Linked DNA regions of Homo sapiens: region 2 is linked to region 1. Evidence: promoter capture Hi-C in human tissues and cell types (Jung and others, 2019). All regions are on one chromosome and are shown on one strand. Each heading gives the region's core, a stretch centred on a gene start or on the middle of the fragment in contact. The rest is flanking DNA. Distances are from core to core; before and after follow the strand shown.

Region 1 (2,947 bases), core at 32-2,531:
TGCATTTTATTTGTAAATAATATTTAACAGTGATGCTGCTAAATAGCAGCATAAAAATGTGGCAAGATCCTCATAATTCACAGGTTTTGCTGTTGTGGTAACATGAAAGTGAAAACAAAAGCATACTGTTCTACAACTGCACAGCTTCCTTTTCCTGTTCTCAGGGCAGTAGATGTCAATTGAATGCTCAGACACCAACAAGAACAGAAAATTCAACACACAGATGTTGCCACTGACTTGTGATGCTCACCAAACACTCATAACTTAGAGGAAGTACTTTTTTTCTTTCACTGGTTTGAATTCACCAACTTGATTATCAAATAATGCAGCAGTTTCATTATTTTCATCACTGGGATTTCTTTTCCTGACCTCACTTGTTGATTGCACTCATCTATATATAACTTAGGCCTCCCCTGAACACGGAGAAAGACACACGGCACCTGCTGTCCAGCCAGAAGTTATTTTAAGCTATTCTAAAATGAGTCATGCCGTTTAGCACTTCATCCTTGAAAATCAAGAGAATCGTTTTTCAGTCAAATTGAAAACAGTAAACATTTAGTGGCTTAAATCCATACATGGGTTTTAAAGTCGGGGAGACTATCTTAGGATGAAATAAAATCTCAAGTAAAATGAACTTCAAAATAATTAATTTAAGATAAGCTGTCCATAGGAGTTTTACTTCGGTTAGTCTAAATGCAAGTGGCTGTTTGTATTTGATTTATTCTTCATGAGATGCCACAATCATTGATTTTTTAAATTCTTAATTCCATGGCTATTCTTTAAACTCCTGTTCCACATTTACTTTAAAACAGAACAGTCATTATAAAGCCCAGGACAATTCAATTCCCAAAAGTAGCCTCAAGACAAGTTAACAAGAGGGAAAAAAACAAAGTCAGAGAACTTTGTTACTTTTCAATCATCCATTTTATATTATGTGGCAAAGAAATTATTTCTAACTTTTATCTTATATAAACTTTATTGCCTTATTTTCCCCTCCCCAGGGAGAGAACTTTTCACTTGTGTTGGCTATTCCAGATGACTATCACAGACACATCCCTCCCTAAGCAACACATTTTATTTATAAATACAACAATGAAAAGTTCTCCAACAGTTCACTGGCAATCTCAAAGTTGCAAGTTTCGAACACCACAAACCGCACCCTATACCTTCTCACAGGGCTTGGGGGAGTGTTTGTCATACTTACCAGAAGGCAAGAAGCTAAGCAAGAAGAGAGAGGAGAGGAAGGAGGCAGGAAAAAGCAAGTCAGAGCTGCAGCAACAGCAGGAGAGGGCGGGCTGGCTGTGTTCTTACAAGGGAGAGAGAAACCCAATACACACACACACACATACACACGTGCACGCACGCGCGCGCACACACACACACACACACACACGCCACAGGCACTGATGGAGGCAGCAGTCTGGAGGAGGTGGGGGTAGGGAAAGGAACATCATATGACACAGCAAGGGGAAAATACACCCAAGCTTCCCTAGCTGTTGCCAGGGGAAATACCTTAGCAGAGAGAAGCAGCTGGAAGATCTCATTAGACTCTCCATGTTTTGTTTGTCCTTTCGGAAATTTAAACTCTGAGTATATTACCCCCGTTGCAAATGCAGTCTTTCACCATTGTTGTCCTTTTTGGGTAGAGATCAGTTTTTCTTACTTCTTGGGTTATCTCCAGTGTGGTGGAAGATTCATCTTCTTTTTCTTCTTCTTCTTGCACTAGCTTAATTAGTGTCAGGTTTCTTACAGGAATCATGGAAAAAGAAAAACAATGGCATAAGAACAGGGAGGTGGTGGAACCATTTTAATTCTGATGTCATTGTTTGGTTTGTTTGCAAAGTTTGAAATAAACATGTAGATGGTGATTTTGGAGCTGAACTGAGTATAATCTTCATGCACGTGGTAATTGGTGTGACCTTGGAGCACAGTCTTTCCCAGGTAACTCTTCCCATCTCAAACAAACCCTCAGGGAAGCAGTCTGCTTTTTCTTCCTTAGTTGGTGGCTTTCCCACATTTTGTAAATCCTCAACATGCTCCTTGATCCTCCTCAGAAAAAGAAATTCCTTCTGATTCACCATAAAATGCCTGTCTATTAATTTACATCCATTTGCCTTTTATTTTTCTTTCTGGAGCTTGTGTTCCCATACTTCCAAAGCAGATTCCTCCATCGGTTTCTGCTCTGGGGACAGGCTAGGCATAGTGGCATCCCTTGTGGGAGGCAGAATAATGCCACCCAAAAGATCTCCACGTCCTACTCCCTGGAACCTGTGAATATGTTTCTTTACATGACAAAAGAGACTTTGCAGATGTGAGGAAGGATCCTGAGGTAGGGAGGTTATCTTGAACTACTGGGTGGGTTCAATGTAATCATAAGGGTATTTATTTATTTATTTATTGAGACAGAGTCTCGCTCTGTCACTCAGGCTGGAGTGCAGTGGTGCAATCTCAGCTCACTGCAACCTCCCGGGTTCAAGCGATTCTCCTCCCTCAGCCTCCCAAGTAGCTGGGATTACAGGCGCCTGCCACCACATCCAGCTAATTTTTGTATTTTTAGTAGAGACGGGGTTTCGCTGTGTTGGCTAGGCTGGTCTCGAACTCCTGACCTCATGATCCGCCCACCTCGGCCTCCCAAAGTGCTGGGATTATAAGCGTGAGCCATTGCACTCAGCCTCATAAGGGTCTTTATAAATGAGGGAGGAAGGCAGTAGGATTGGAGGCAGAAAAGGAGATTTGATGACCTCAGCATAGGTCAGGAAGCTTCTAGAAGCTGGGAAAGGCAAGGAAACAGATTATACTCTAGAGCCTCCAGAGGGATGCAATCCTGCGACATTGATCTTAGATCAAAGAAATTCGTTTTGGATTTCCGACCTCCAGAAATATAAAATAGCAAACTTATGTTATTTTTAAGCTGCTAAATTTGTGATAAGATGTTATGGCAACAAAA
Region 2 (3,215 bases), core at 322-2,821, 2.0 Mb after region 1:
ATGCAATCAGAAAACCAGAGAAATTAGTGAAAAAAATTTAACAGAGCTTCAGAGACATGTTGGTCACCTTTAAGTGCATTAATATACATATAGTAGGAGAATCAGTGTGGGTAGAGAGAAATAAAGAATCAGAAAAAGAAATTAAAATAAATAATTGCTGGAATGTCTCAAATTTTTTGAAAAATATTAATCTATGCATTTAAAAATCTCAAAGAACTTCAAGTAGACTGAAGACAGTAACTCATAGTAAAGGAACACATGAAGAGAATCAGAAATGATATATAAGAAAATTAAAATAATGAAATCTATAAATATGTATTATACTTACTTATTTCTTCTTTGAATGACAAAATCATGTAAAGTAATAATTATAACTGTATTGTTGAATGCATAATATTCATAGATATAATTTGTAGAACAATAATACCCAAAGTGAATAGAGCTATATGGGGGAAAAATTTACATATTTCACTGAAATTAAGTGAATGTGAATATAAAGATGTAGCTGAAAAGATATAGGGGGCAAGTCCTAGGTCAACCATTAAGGTAAACACTGAAAGAGTAAATAATTAAAATTATTAAAGTGTTACATTATAAAATATTCACTTAAAGCAAAAAAAGATATTAAAGGAGGATAGAGGAACAAAAATGACATGCCACATATAGAGAACAAAAGGTAAAATGGCAGATGTAAATCCAATTATATCCACAGTAATATTAAATTGGAATACATTAAACAATCCAATGAAAAGGCAAATTGCCAGACAGGATTAAAGCAAAACAACACAAAATAAGCATCAATCATATTCTGTCTACAAGGGACATATTTCTGATTCAAAGATGCAATAGTGTGAAAGTGAAAGCTGGAAAAGATATTTCATGCAAACTGCCATCACAAGAAAGATATAGTGGCTCTACTGACATCAGATAAAAAGCCTTAAAAACGAATTTTAAAAAGTTTCTAGAGAGATAAAGAGGAATATTTTATAATAATAAAAACATCTACCACAAGGATATAACAATTGTAAACATATATGCAATTAAAAACAGAGTGCCAAAATACATGAAACAAAAAAAAAGCAGTAAAGACACAGTTTGACAGCAATAATTGGAAAGTTCAATACCTCAATTTCAATAATGGATAAAAAATCTAGTAAAGATTAACAAGAAAATAAATGACTTGAACAACATTATAAACCAGCTGGTCATCTTTAGAACACCATAAATGTCTGTGAAACCTGCCACCTAAGAGCAACAGAACACAAGTTTTTCTACAGTAAAGTTGAAAACTCACAAGGTAGACCATGTGCTTGGCCCAAAATAAACTTCAATAGATTTTAAAAACTACAAATGATGTGAAGTGTCTTCTCTAACCACAGCTGAATAAAATTAGATATCAATTAGAGAAAGAAATTTGGAAAACTCACAAACATGTGAAAATAAAACCACATATTCCTAAATAATCAATGAGTCGAAGATGAAACCAAAAGGAAATTTTGAAATTACTATCAGATTAATGAAAATAAAGGAACAACATGTTCAAACATATAGTATGTAACTAAAGCAGTGATTACAGGGAGATTAATAACTGTATATACCTTTATTTAGAAAGAATAAAGATCTGAAATCAATTTTCCACTTGCATGATGAGGACACTGGGGAAAAAAGAGAAAACTATGTAAAGCAAGCAGAAAGCATAATAGAATAAAAGTTAGAGAGGGAATTAATGAAATAAATAATAGAAAAACAATAGAGAAAATCAATTGCATTGAAAACTGAGTTTTAGAAAAAGATTAACAAATCGACAAACCTTATCCAGGTAGATCAATTAAGAAGAGAAAATTCTCAAGTTACTAGAATTAGAAATGAGGAAGGCAACATTATAACCAACTTCAAGGAAATTAAAAAATGTTGTAAAAGAGTACTATGAATATTTGAATGCCAACTAATTACACAACTTTGTTAAAATGGAAAAATTCCCAGAAAGATGCAAACTACCAAAAATGATTTCAGATTAAAAATACAAGTTGGGCCGGATGCAGTGGCTCACATCTGCAATACCAGCACTTTGGAAGGCCAAGGCGGGCAAATGACCTGAGACCAGGAGTTCAAGACCAGCCTAGCCAACATGGTAAAACCCCGTCTCTACTAAAAATTCAAAAATTAGCCGGGCATGGTGGGACATGTCTGTTGTCCCAGCTACTCTGGAGACTGAAGCAGGAGAATCGCTTGAACCCAGGAAGTGGAGGTTGCAGTGAGCTGAGATAGCACCACTGCACTCCAGCCTGGTTGACAGAGCAAGACTCTGTCTCAAAAACAAAACAAAACAAAATAAAACAAAACAAAAATAATTTGTGTGGGCCTATGACAAATAAATAAGTTGAATTAGTAATCTGAATCTATCCACACAAGAATATGCCAGCCTCAGATGACTTCACTGGTGAATTCTACCAAAAGTTTAAAGAATTAAAAATTCTTTTCAAACTCTTCCAAAATTACAAGAGGGGAGTACCACCTTATTTTGTAAGGCCAGTAATACCCTGACCCCGATACTAAAACCAAACAAAGGCATCGCAAGAAAATTACAGACTGTTAAGTATGAAAACAGATGCAAAAATCCTGGACAGCATACAAGCAAACTGAATCCAACCACATATAAAAAGTGTTATGCAACATTATAAATAAATGAATTTATTCCAGAAATTTAAAGTTGTTTTACTTATTCCAAAGCAAATTAATGTAATGTACAATATCAATGGTATTAAAAAGAAAAACCACATGATCATCTAAATGGATAGACGATAAGCATTTGAAAAAAATCCAAAACCATTTCTTAATAGAAACACTCAACAAACTAAAATCAGAAGGAACGTTATTCTGATTAATTAGACCTACGATAACCCATAGATAACATCATCCTTAATGGTGAAAGACTGTATGCTTTCCTGAGATCCTTCAGATCCCTAAGATTAGGAACAAGACAACAATGTTATTTTTACCACTGCTATTCAACACTGTACTGGTTCTAGCCAGGATAATTAGGACAGGGATTAAATAAAAAGCATAAATAGTGGAAAAGAAGAAGTAAAACTATTCCTATTTATAAAGACACATAGTCTTACACACAGAAAATTGTAAAGAATTAATTTTTAAAAAACTGTTAGAGTTAACGCTAGTTGATGAGTTCAGCAAATTTGCAAGATATATTAACAGAC

The links. The method cuts DNA at HindIII sites, captures the fragments that hold promoters and counts their contacts. A contact is called where the count stands out against the background at its distance.
Region 2: a fragment that was not itself captured here is called in contact with the fragment with the promoter of TXLNB in region 1 in 1 of the 25 tissues and cell types used here (H1 embryonic stem cells).

Annotation. Positions count from the first base shown.
Region 1 is chr6:139,290,717-139,293,663 of GRCh38, forward strand. TXLNB (taxilin beta) reads right to left here and starts at 1,282. Exons shown (of 10, transcript NM_153235.4): 1 at 1,205-1,282. All of the region lies in intron 4 of LOC102723690 (a long non-coding RNA gene), which reads left to right. RefSeq lists enhancers at 1-56, 257-506 and a silencer at 116-410. The HindIII fragment of the contact is 6,084 bases long and covers 1-2,122 here.
Region 2 is chr6:141,256,675-141,259,889 of GRCh38, forward strand. No RefSeq gene overlaps it. Among named protein-coding and RNA genes, the nearest start is that of MIR4465, 570 kb to the left of the region's middle. The HindIII fragment of the contact is 9,295 bases long and covers 1-3,215 here.